Linked DNA regions of Homo sapiens: region 2 is linked to region 1. Evidence: promoter capture Hi-C in human tissues and cell types (Jung and others, 2019). All regions are on one chromosome and are shown on one strand. Each heading gives the region's core, a stretch centred on a gene start or on the middle of the fragment in contact. The rest is flanking DNA. Distances are from core to core; before and after follow the strand shown.

What was found. The method cuts DNA at HindIII sites, captures the fragments that hold promoters and counts their contacts. A contact is called where the count stands out against the background at its distance.
Region 2: a fragment that was not itself captured here is called in contact with the fragment with the promoter of RTN1 in region 1 in 1 of the 25 tissues and cell types used here (small bowel).

The regions. Positions count from the first base shown.
Region 1 is chr14:59,866,516-59,872,834 of GRCh38, reverse strand. It overlaps RTN1 (reticulon 1), which reads left to right and starts at 2,059. Exons shown (of 9, transcript NM_021136.3): 1 at 2,059-2,445. The coding sequence starts at 2,205. RefSeq lists a silencer at 2,051-2,150. The HindIII fragment of the contact is 4,177 bases long and covers 893-5,069 here.
Region 2 is chr14:58,524,959-58,531,612 of GRCh38, reverse strand. All of the region lies in intron 29 of KIAA0586, which reads right to left. Among named protein-coding and RNA genes, the nearest start is that of KIAA0586, 100 kb to the right of the region's middle. The HindIII fragment of the contact is 3,859 bases long and covers 3,061-6,654 here.

The sequences.
Region 1 (6,319 bases), core at 810-3,309:
TTCAATTTCCTTTAACAACTACACTCTAAATAGATTTAACTGGCTATTTCCTTCACACATTCTCAATGAGAGTATTGATTAGTATGAAAGAAATTGACAAATAATTAGAATCATATCCCCAAACTTCCTATCTATTAATCATAAGGAAACACAGAGGCTTGCTTAGGTCTCCCAGTTTTTTAATGATGACTTTCATTCATGTTTCTCAGAGAAACAAAAGAATATACTTCATATTATTTTGTATGTAACTCCTTTGCATAGCAATTCTCAAATATTAGTATTCATCAATAACCACTTTAAGGTTATATCATTAGAATTGTCTATGTTCTTGTCTTGTTATCAGTAATAAAACCATGAGAAATTCCCATCTAGTATTTCTGATGCTTTAGGGAATACTAAGTAATAGATTTGAAAAAACTTACAAGTGCCCTCTAATTACAAGACAGGATTAAGCTCCATGGAAATACAGCAGTGGAATAAGCTTTTCAACTTAACGGTTTTTTAAATACACTCTTGTTTTCCCATGGAAAGATGTTTAAAAATCATTATGATTCATGATAACCAATTATTTTGTTGTTTTTGGATGAGATTATTTTTATAGATTTATTGAGTTATAACTGACAACACATTAAATTGTTCATATTTACAGTAAACAATAAGTTTTGACATATGTTTGCACCTGTGAAGCTATAACCACAATCTAGATAGTGAATATTTCCATCATGAGACATAATTTTGAGTATGTCAAAAATGTAAAATTTTGGTGACCATCAGATTTCCAGGGATATCTGGCTTCAGGAGGCCATATTTATTGTTTAGTGAATGATTTTTCTCTAATTTATTGTCATCTTTTGAACATTAGTGCACTAGCAGAACAAAAGATTAGGCAGACTCTGGGCTTTTTCATTTTAGCATTATTGAGGAGCACCTGAATGGTCCTGAAGTTGGCCTTTGAATATACCAATGGACAGGTATGAAATCCTCAAGATGCGCATGGTGGCCAAGAGTCCCACAGTCTCACAGTGTGTGCGGTACCGTCTGCGCCCACCTTTCCTAGAGAAGAAACAGCAGAAAAACCTATTCCTTCACCCTGTGTGTTGTGGTGAATCTTAGTTTTTAAAGGCACATTATTTTATTATATAAACAACTTGGGAACCAATAAAACACAAGACATTTGAAAAGATGGGTCTTCGTATGGGCACAACATATGATAAGGCAAGTCACTTTCCTCCTCTGAGTTTGGGTTTATTTGCTGACTATCTTCCATTTTATCACAGTGAACTGTAAAGAAAAAGATGCAAGCTTCATGGAATGTCCAAATTCTGAAATACAACGGACTGCACAGACAGCTTATGATTAGGATGGCCTTGGCTCAGTGTTTCTGAAAGCAAATGTACAGCTTTTGTCCTTGCCTATTGACACCCTGTTTGCCCTCAGGGCTGGTCAGGGTGAGATCTGTTAAGCTTTTTTTGGAGGCTGTCCTGATAACTCATTTCTTTACTCCACTATTTTCAGGCCCATTCTGGAAACGCAGGATTTAACCGCGGGGTTGCAGCTTCCCTGGTCTCCATCTGCCATCAGAACCCATCTCCACCCCTTCCCCGTTCAGACCTGTGTCCCCTCCACAACTCATACTGGTCACTCTCAGAACTGTGGCCCTGAGTTCTCTAGCTTTCCCTCTTTGCCTCGGGACCCAGGACACCAGTCGGGGCTTAACTTTCTCAGTTGGGAAGGCGACGCTGCTGGTGGCTGCTGCTACTTGCTGGTTCTTCCTTTTTTTTCCTCCCCAAACGAGAGGAAGATTCGAGTGGATTTGGCACATCCCCTAACCGGGGCCTGCCATTTGCAGGTTGGGGGCTGACGTGCCCAGGAGGACCCGGACCAAGCAGGCCATTTTCACCTGCGTAATAACAGGATTGGGAATAGCGAAGCAGCGGCGGCAGCAGCGAGTGGAGTAGGAGGAGGAGCGCAGGCAGCGGCCGCGGCGGGGCCGGAGGAAGAGGAGGGGGGAGAAGGAGGAGCTGAAGCGGGAAGAGCGGCAGGCAGCGGCTCGGCGGAGTTGCAGCAGAGGCGGCGGCGACGCTGAGACACCGCAGCTTCCCTGAGCGCCGAGTCCCTCCGGGGACAGCAGCAGGGAGCGCCCGCGCAGCCACCGAGCCTCTGCCCAGCCAAGCCGCCGTCGCCGCGCCGGGGGACCGCCAGCCATGGCCGCGCCGGGGGATCCGCAGGACGAGCTGCTGCCGCTGGCCGGCCCCGGGTCCCAGTGGCTCAGGCACCGGGGGGAGGGGGAGAACGAAGCGGTGACGCCGAAAGGGGCCACGCCGGCGCCGCAGGCTGGGGAGCCCAGCCCGGGGTTGGGCGCCAGGGCCCGGGAAGCGGCGTCGCGGGAAGCCGGCTCGGGCCCCGCCCGGCAGTCGCCCGTTGCCATGGAAACTGCATCCACAGGTAAGGCGGGCGCCGCTGCCCCTCAAATGGCGTCGGGGACCAGGGCCCCCCAGTCAGTCCCCTTCTGCGCGGCTCTCCTGGGCACCTGCCTCGCGCTTTCTGCCTTGAGCGCCGACCCCACCCCCGCGTCGCCACGGGCGACTGGGAATATTCGCGGGCTGGTAGAAAACAACAATTTTATTTTTCCCAAAGGCTCAGAAAAAGTCAAGATGCTTTTGATCCTTTTATTTCATTATCATGATTATTTCCGCTTTAAAAATTGTTCTCATAGGCAAACAGCAGCATTCTGGCTGCTGGCGAGTCTGGGTACAAGTTTCTCCCTCCTGCCAGGAGGCTCCGAGCTGTAGGGCCCGTTTGACAGGTTGTGGGGATTTTGGGGGGCGTGTTTGCGCGCAGTGTGCGCGCCGGCTACAGGAGATGCTGACAACCGAGCGGCGGGCAGGCCCGCGGCCCCTGGACCCGGCTCTGTCCAGGGCAGAGATGTGGCTGTAACTGCCCCTTACCCTTGCCCTCCACGAATCGCCACCACACCTTACTCCCCCCACATCCCTCCGCCTTTTCTCCCGCAGAAAACAAATCCCAGGGAGTTTGTCCCTAATTCGGGAGGCACAGCTTTGCAAGAGGGTTGGGTGCTGTGGCTGCCCCCGCCCAAAACCTGTATTTCGCCGCTGCCCGGATGGCCCCACCTTGCAGGGAGCATTGAAACTTCAAGTCCTAAGTGCGGCGGGCCTGGCTGTGGGTTGGAGGGCTTGGGTGGTGGTGAGTGGACGTGGTACAGTTTACCAGCAGTCTAAGCGCCCCCCCCCCCCCACCCCGGAAATTGCCCTGGGTTTGGCCATTCTTCGCCTGACGCCCTATTCAAAGTCTGAGCGCGCCAGTGTCCAGCGGGAGCCCAGGCCCCTGGCGCATCCTGGTCAAAGGATCCAGGAAGCGCGCTTTGAGGCTGCCGGCCTGGTTAACGCTGTTTCCAGGGAGAGGAAAGGGGATGCTGTGTGGTGCTCTTTCCTGAGAAAGCTTTGCTATGGTGGAGTGGGAGTTGTGTAGTTTTGGCAATGTAGAGCTAGAAGGCCTGGGGTGGGGGGTGCTCCCAGAGGAGGGGAAGGGGAGTGGGACTGGTGTGTGTGCTCTTGGTGGTTGATTTAAAGAAACCCCTTTTCGTAAGCTTCTCTTAAGGGTTATGTGGAATGTCTAAGGTAATCGTAATTAACTGCCCTGGTACAGAAGATCTGAGCTGGGGAAAAGAGGTTTGGAGAATGCGTTGAATAAAAATTGTCAATATCCTGAAAGGAAGAGAAAAAGTGGAGACCCTATATAAGAAAAAAGAAAAAGAAAGAAAGAAAAGTACTCAAAAGCCCCAACGCCAAACGCCAAAGGTTATATATTAATTATTATATCCCTAGGAGTGGGGGAGGATTTAAATCTAAGAATGGCTGCTCAGTCTCTCTTTCAACTTCTGCATCCAAGTGAAAACAAAACTCTTTATAATTGCAAAAGAAGATGGCAAATGATAATAGACAAAGGAAGGTAGTTTTTGTCTTTACCATTCTTTGTTGAGGATAGACTGCTCATAGTTCAGAATCTTTATCCACTGTAATCAAAGTAAATTGTTTCTTTATGAAACATTACCCACCTCCTATTAGTGCCACTAAGATTATGTGAACTAGAAAAAGGAAGCTAAGTGCCCCATGCTCAGTAACATATCCACAAAAGTTATTATATAGGAAATGCTTAGAATATATATTTGTGGGGTACAGTGTGATGTTTTGACATATGTCTGCATTGTCAAATGATTAGCTAACAAATCCATCATCTCATGTACTTTTTTTTTGTGGTAAAAGCGTTTAAAATTTACTCTTTTAGCAATTTCAAAATGTACAGTGCATTGTTACAGAAAGGTGGCTGTAGTAAATAACAATGCATTTTGCATTTTTAGTATTATTATTATAGAAATACCTTGCTTTATTGAATGTGTTTGGGGTTTTCTATCCTAGGCAACAAATATAGTAATAAAATCAAACATGATACTACGTTTGGATGGGAGAAGAATGAAGAAAGATGGAAGGAGCACATATTTTGCATATTTATATAGAAATTTTTTAGTTTATGATTGTGGCTAGAAGGAATTTCTGATATAGTTGTTGATTGGTTAATGTCTTAAATCTCTGTGTTTCTTATTAAGTAGACCGGATGTGCTGCTATAAGAGACTCAAACGCCAGAAATGCTGTATAAATAAATAACTAGATCTTAAAATTCCAAACAAATCTTGTCCAGCTTCCTGGTCTGTTATTTTGGCAGTTCTATTGCTATAAGCAAAGTTAGCAGGTGAGCCCTCAATTGTATCAGAGATGCCTATTAAGCACACTACTTTACACTGTATTTCTTAATTTACTTTTTTTTGGCTTATAAACAGAAATTTATTTTCTCACAGTGCTAGAAGCTGAGAAATCTAAGATCAAGGTAGATTTGGTGTCTGGTCAGGGTCTGCTTCCTGGTCCACACACAGCTGTCTTTTCACTGTGTCCCCACATGGCAGAAGAGTGCTTTATTTTTTTAAAAGAGTGGTGCTTTTTTGGGACTCAACTCAAACTAAGAAGTAACTTAGACTTTGAGTGTGATGCACTGTAAACAGATTTTGTTTCTTTTTTAGATGGAAATATAAGACAGATATTGATGTTTTAATAACTGTTTTTCTGAAAAACATCACCAATCATGCCATCTGGACAGATATTCTGTTATTTATTTTTATACATTGATGGTAATTAAAATTATCCCAGGAACATTTCCAAAAATATGTCTCAGCAGTGTCCTGGAATGAATATAAGTTTAAACATTATTAAAACTGCACCATAAAACTCCATCAATCCTCTATTTTCAGGTGTTCTCATTGCTTCTGTCCCTTTTGTGGCGTGGAAATAGTCTCATCAAAATAACACTGTCTTCTAAAGTTACAACTTCATGTCTAAACTGATAATGGACATGTGAAATTATGTGTGTTGACAAGGGAACATTTAATACACCGTAGGTAGGCTACGACATGTTAGCGTTGTTAATCATAAAAGTGCCATCATCTAATAACTTTATACAAAGAATGTTAAGAGCAACTGTTCTGTTTTTTCATGATCAGTTATTTTATTACTGGAAACTATTCAAAAGGAGCATACAATAACAAAAGGAAAAAAGAATGGTCCTTTGTTTAAAGAAAGAATTTTAAATAGAACATCTGAACAAAATGAAATAGAGGTTAACTCATTGCCTGCTTTGGAAATTAACTCATTGACTGCTTAATATATGGAAAGCAAAATCAAGAACATGATGGAGAATGGTCAGGAAAAATCAGTCCAATATGATTTGCTGCAGTGATATCAATTTATAAATAATTTGACTTAAATTTCAAGATAATTACAAAAAGCATTTTCCAATTTACTTTACATGGACCATATTGTTTATATGTCCTCATTTTTCAAATGCTAAATGTGATGCTGTATTGGAAAAACATCTTCTAAATTCCATTTGGAGGCTAGATTAACTGTCTTCACTTTTGGATGTGTTTGACAGATGTGTAGACATTTTTTATTTGGAGTCATTTCCAGGTAATCCCCTTCAGAAGGTATAAATTTCCATCTTCTTTCTTTTGAGAAAGCTACAGTTCTATTGAAATGGTAAGGAACATTACACTGTGCCATTACTATCTTTAAAGAAACATATAAGATGAATAAAAGAGTTTGGAAAACTAATGCAATTTATTTCTGTGGGCATATCCTCTGGATACAATCAATACCATTTCTGGAAGTAAGTACAATATATGTTCTTTAATATAGGGAATTCAAATTAGGTTAAATTAAATTTAGGATGCTTACATACTTTTAAAATACA
Region 2 (6,654 bases), core at 3,741-6,240, 1.3 Mb after region 1:
CTACAATGGTTGATTTATATTCCCACCAACAGTGTAAAAGCATTCCTATATCTCTACATCCTCTTCAGCATCTGTTGTTTCCTGACTTTCTAATGATCGCCATTCTAACTGGCATGAGATGGTATCTCATTGTGGTTTTGATTTGTATTTCTCTAATGAGCAGTGATGATGAGCCTTTTTTCAGATCTTTGTTGGCCACATAAATGTCTTCGTTTGAGAAGTGTCTGTTGATATCCTTTGCCCAATTTTTTTTTATTTTTTATTTATTTTATTTTTTTTTTTTTTTGAGACGGAGTCTCGGTCTGTCCCCCAGGCTGGAGTGCAGTGGTGCAATCTCGGCTCACTGCAAGCTCTGCCTTCTGGGTTCAGGCCATTCTCCTGCCTCAGCCTCCAAAGTAGCTGGGACTACAGGTGCCCACCACCATGCCCGGCTAATTTTTTTTTTTTTTTGTACATTTTAGTAGAGACGGGGTTTCACTGTGTTAGCCAGGACGCTCTCCATCTCCTGACCTCGTGATCCACCTGCCTTGGCCTCCCAAAGCCCAAAGTGCTGGGATTACAGGCGTGAGCCACTGCACCCGGCCCCTTTGCCCGCTTTTTGATGGGGTTGTTTTTTTCTTGTAAATTTGTTTAAGTTCCTCACAGATTCTAGATATTAGCCCTTTGTCAGATGGATAGATTGCAAAAATTTTCTCCCATTCTGTAGGTTGCCTGTTCATCTGATGATAGTTTCTTTTGCTGTGCAGAAGCTCTTTAGTTTAATTAGATCCCATTTGTCTATTTTGACTTTTGTTGCCATTGCTTTTGGTGTTTTAGTCATGAGGTCTTTGCCCATGCCTATGTCCTGAATGGTACTGCCTAGGTTTTCTTCTAGGGTTTTTATGGTTTTAGGTCTTATGTTTAAGTCTTTAATCCATCTTGAATTAATTTTTGTATAAGGTGTAAGGAAGAGGTCCAGTTTCAGTTTTCTGCATATGGCTAGCCAGTTTTCCCACCACCATTTATTAAATAGGGAATCCTTTCCCCATTGCTTGTTTCTGTCAGGTCTGTCAAAGATCAGATGGCTGTAGATGTGTGGTGTTATTTATTAGGCCTCTGTTTTGTTCCATTGGTCTATATATCTGTTTTGGTACCAGTACCATGCTGTTTTGGTTACTGTAGCCTTGTAATATAGTTTGAAGTCAGGTAGCGTGATGCCTCCAGCTTTGTTCTTTTTGCTTAGGACTGTCTTGGCTATATGGGCTCTTTTTAGGTTCCATATGAAATTTAAAGTAGTTTTTTCTAATTCTGTGAAGAAAGTCATTGGTAGCTTGATGGGGATAGCACTGAATCTATAAATTACTTTGGGCAGTATGGTCTTTTTCACAATATTGATTCTTCCTATCCATAAGCATGGAATGTTTTGCCATTTGTTTGTGTCCTTATTTCCTTGAGCAGTGGTTTGTAGTTCTCCTTGAAAAAGTCCTTCAAACCTCTTGTAAGTTGTATTCCTAAGTATCTTATTCTCTTTATAGCAGTTGTGAATGGGAGTTCACTCACGATTTGGCTATTATTGGCATATAGGAATGCTTGTGATTTTTGCACATTGATTTTGTACCCTGAGACTTTGCTGAAGTTGCTTATCAGCTTAAGGAGATTTTGGGCTGAGATGATGGAGTTTTCTAAATATACAATCTTGTCATCTGCAAACAGAGACAATTTGACTTCCTCCCTTCCTATTTGAATATGCTTTATTTCTCTCTCTTGCCTGATTGCCCTGGCCAGAACTTCCAGTAGTGTGTTGAATCGGAGTGGTGAGAGAGGGCATCCTTGTCTTGTGCTGGTTTACAAAGGGAATGCTTCCAGCTTTTGCCCATACAGTATGATATTGGCTGTGGGTTTGTCATAAATAGCCCTTACTATTTTGAGATATGTTTCATCAATAGATAGTTTATTGAGAGTTTCTAGCATGAAGGGGCGTTGAATTTTACTGAAGGCCTTTTCTGCATCTTTTGAGATAATCACATGGTTTTTGTTATTGGTTCTGTTTATGTGATGGATCATGTTTACTGATTTGCATATGTTGAACCAGCCTTGCACCCCAGGGATGAAGCTGACTTGATTGAGGTAGATAAGCTTTTTCATGTGCTGCTGGATTCGGTTTGCCAGTATTTTATTGAGGATTTTTACACTGATGATCATCACGGATACTGGCCTGAAATTTTCTTTTTTTTGTTGTGTCTCTGCCAGGTTTTCGTATCAGGATGATGCTGGCTTCATAAAATGAGTAAGGGAGCAGTCTCTCTTTTTCTATTCTTTGGAATAGTTTCAGAAGGAATAGCAGCAGCTCCTCTTTGTACCTCTGGTAGAATTCGCCTGTGAATTTGTCTGGTCCTGGGCTTTTTTTGGTTGGTAGGCTATTAATTACTGCCTCAATTTCAGAACTTGTTATTGATCTATTCAGGGATTCGACCTCTTCCTGGTTTAGTCTTGGGAGGGTGTATGTGTCCAGGAATTTATCCATTTCTTCTAGATTTTGTAGTTAATTTGTGTAGAGGTGTTTATAGTATTCTCTGATGGTGGTTTGTATTTTTGTGAAATCAGTGGTGATGTCCCCTTTATCATTTTTTATTATGTCTATTAGATTCTTCTCTCTTTTCTTCTTTATTAGTCTAGCTAGTGGTCTATCCATTTTGTTGATCTTTTCAGAAAACCAGCTCCTGCATTCATTGATTTTTTTAAGGGTTTTGTGTGTCTCTATCTCCTTCAGTTCTGCTCTGATCTTAGTTATTTCTTGTCTTCCGCTAGCTTTTGAATTTGTTTGCTCTTGCTTCTCTAGTTCTTTTAATTGAGATGTTAGGGTGCCAATTTTAGATCTTTCCTGCTTTCTCCTGCGGGCATTTAGTGTTAGAAATTTCCCTCTACACACTGCTTTAAATGTGTCCCAGAAATTCTGGTACGTTGTGTCTTTGTTCTCATTGGTTTCAAAGCACTTATTTATGTCTGTCTTAATTTCATTATTTACCGAGTAGTCACTCAGGAGCAGGTTGTTCAGTTTCCATGTAGTTGTGCCGTTTTGAGTGAGTTTGTTAATCCTGAGTTCTAGTTTGATTGCACTGTGGTCTGAGAGACTGTTTATTATGATTTCTGTTCTTTTGCATTTGCTGAGGAGTGTTTTACTTCCAATTATATGGTCAATTTTAGAATAAGTGTGATGTGGTGCTAAGAAGAATGTATACTCTGTTGATTTGGGGTGGAGAGTTCTGTAGATGTCTATTAGGCCTGCTTGGTCCACAGCTGAGTTCAAGTCCTGATTATCCTTGTTAATTTTCTGTCTCATTGTTCTGTCTAATATTGACAGTGGGGAGTTAAAGTCTCCCACTATTATTGTGTGGGAGTCTAAGTCTCTTTGTAGGTCTCTAAGAACTTGTTTTATGAATCTGGACGCTCCTGTATTGGGTGCATATATATTTAGGATAGTTAGCTCTTCTTGTCGCATTGATCCCTTTACCATTACGTAATAACCTTCTTTGTCTTTTTTTATCTTTGTTGGTTTAGTCTGTTTTATCAGAGACTAGGATTGCATCCCATGCTTTTTTTGCTTTCCATTTGCATGGTAAACATTCCTCCATCCCTTTATTTTGAGCCTATCTGTGCCTTTGCATGTGAGATGGGTCTCCTGAATACAGCACACCGATGGGTCTTGACTCATTATCCTATTTGCTAGTCTATTTCTTTTAATTGGGGCATTTAACCCATGTACATTTAAGGTTAATATTGTTATGTGTGAATTTGATCCTGTCATTAGGATGCTAGCTGGTTATTTTGCCCATTAGTTGACGCAGTTTCTTCATAGTGTCAATGGTCTTTACAATTTGCTATGTTTTTGCAGTGGCTGGTGCAAGTTTTTCCTTGCCATGTCTAGTGCTTCCTTCAGGAGTTCTTGTAAGGCAAGCCTGGTGGTGACAAAATCTTTCAGCATTGGCTTGTCCCTAAAGGATTTTATTTCTCCTTCACTTATGAAGCTTAGTTTGGCTGTATATAAAATTCTGGGTTGAAAATTCTTTTATTTAAGACTGCTGAATATTGGCCCCCCATTCTCTTCTGGCTTGTAGGGTTTCCGCAGAGAGAGCCACTGTTAGTCTTATGGGCTTCCTTTTGTGGGTAACCCAACCTTTCTCTCTGGCTGCCCTTAACATTTTTTCCTTCATTTCAACCTTGTTGAATCTGACGATTATGTGTCTTGAGGTTGCTCTTCTCAAGGAATATCTTTGTGGTATGCTCTATATTTCCTGAATTTCAATGTTGGCCTGTCTTGCTAGGTTGGGGAAGTTCTTCTGGATAATATTCTGAAGAGTGTTTTCCAACTTGGTTCCATTCTCCCCGTCACTTTCAGGTACACCAATCAGATGTAGGTTTGGTCTTTTCACATAGCCCCATATTTCTTGGAGACACTGTTCATTCCTTTTCATTCTTTTTTCTCTATTCTTGTCTTCACGCTTTATTTCTTTAAGTTGATCTTCAATCTCTGATATCCTTTCTTCCGCTTGATCAATCTGGCTATTGATACTTGAGTATGCTTCACAAAGTTCTGGAGCTGTGTTTTTCAGCTCCATCAGGTCATTTATGTTCTTCTCTAAACTGGTGATTCTAGTTAGTAATTTGTCTAACCTTTTTTCAAGGTTCTTAGCTTCCTTTATTATGGGGGAAGGAATTAAAGAGGGGAAAATGTGATTCTGATTAAGGCAATATACTCAGACTATTTAGGTTTAGATGACCTGAGTAAGCAAAGGGAAATTACAGTCCAGCTTTCTGTAGTCCTTTCCAGAGCTAATTTGAAGGAATAGAAAGGGTTAGAACATGCTCCTTTAGCTCGGAGGAGTTTGTTATTACCCACCTTTTGAAGCCTACTTCTGTCAATTCATCAAATTCATTCTCCATCCAGTTTTGTTCCCTTGCTGGCGAGGAGTTGTGATCCTTTGAAGAAGAGGTGTTCTGGTTTTGGGAATTTTCAGGCTTTTTGCACTGGTTTTTCCTCATCTTTGTGGATTTATCTACCTTTGGTCTTTGATGTTAGTGACCTTCAGATGGGGTTTCTGCGTGGGTGTCCTTTTATGTTGATGTTGATGCTATTCCTTTCTGTTAGTTTTCCTTCTACCATTCACGCCCCTCTGCTGCAGGTCTGCTGGAGTTTGCTAGAGGTCCACTCTAGACCCTGTTTGCTTGGGTATTACCAGCAGAGTCTGCCAAACAGCAAAGATTGCTGCCTGTTCCTTCCTCTGGAAGCTTTGTCCCAGAGGGGCACCCACCAGATACCAGTCATAGATCTCCTGTATGAGGTGTCTGTCAACCCCTGCTAGGAGGTGTCTCCCAGTCAGGAGGCATGGGGGTCAGCGACCCCCTTGAGGAGGCAGTCTGTCCCTTAGCAAAGCTTGAGCGCTATGCTGGGAGATTTGCTGCTCTCTTCAGAGCTGGCAGGCAGGAACATCTGTCTGCTGAAGCTGCACCCACAGCCGCCCCTTCCCACAGGTGCTCTGTCCCAGGGAGATGGGAGTTTTATCTATAAGCTCCTGACTGGGGCTGCTGCCTTTCTTTCAGAGATGCCCTGCCCAGAGAAGAGGAATCTACAGAGGCAGTCTGGCTACAGCGGCTTTGCTGAGACATGGTGGGTTCCACACAGTTCCAACTTCCTGGCGGCTTTGTTTACACTGAGGGGAAAACCGCCTACTCAAGCCTCAGTAATGGCGGACGCCCCTCCCCCGACCAAGCTTGAGCATCCCAGGTCGACTTCAGACTGCTGTGCTGGCAGTGAGAATCTGAAGCCAGTGGATCTTTACCTTGCTGGGTTCCGTGGCAGTGGAATCCGCTGAGGTAGACCACTTGGCTCCCTGGCTTCAGCCCTGTTTCGAGGGGAGCAAATGGTTCTGTCTTGCTGGCATTCCAAGTGCCACTGAAGTATGAAAAAAAACTCCTGCAGCTAGCTTGGTGTCTGCCCAAATGGCTGCCCAGTTTTGTGCTTGAAACCTAGGGCCCTCGTGGTGTAGGCACCTGAGGGAATCTCCTGGTCTGCAGGTTGCAAAGACCATGGGAAAAGCATAGTATCTGGGCCGGAATGCACCGTTTCTCACGGCACAGTCCCTCATGGATTCACTTGGCTAGAGGAGGGAGTTCCCCGACCCCTTGCACTTCACGGGTGAGGCAACGCCCCACCCTGCTTCTGCTTGCTCTCCGTGGGCTGCACCCACTGTCTAACCAGTCCCAATGAGATGAGCCAGGTACCTCAGTTGGAAATGCAGAAATCACCCACCTTCTGCATTGATCTCGCTGGGAGCTGCACAATGGAATTGTTCCTGTTCAGCCATCTTGCCCAGGCCCCTAAGATATATCTTATACATATAATCTTAAATATATTCACTGAAGAGAAACAATTTTGTTGAAACTTAATTTATCTCCCTAACACTATATTGAACATGTACCATCTTTAGCATTTCCTCACCAGCATCCTTTAAAGCTTAGGACAAATATAGGTTCATTTCCTATCTGTTAAAGGAGAGCTGATTATAACATGAGTATTCAAAAAGGAGAGATTTCCTAGAAACAGTCATGCTAATAAAAGCTAACACTTTCAGGGCTGGGCATGGTGGCTCATGCCTGTTATCCTAGCACTTTGGGAGG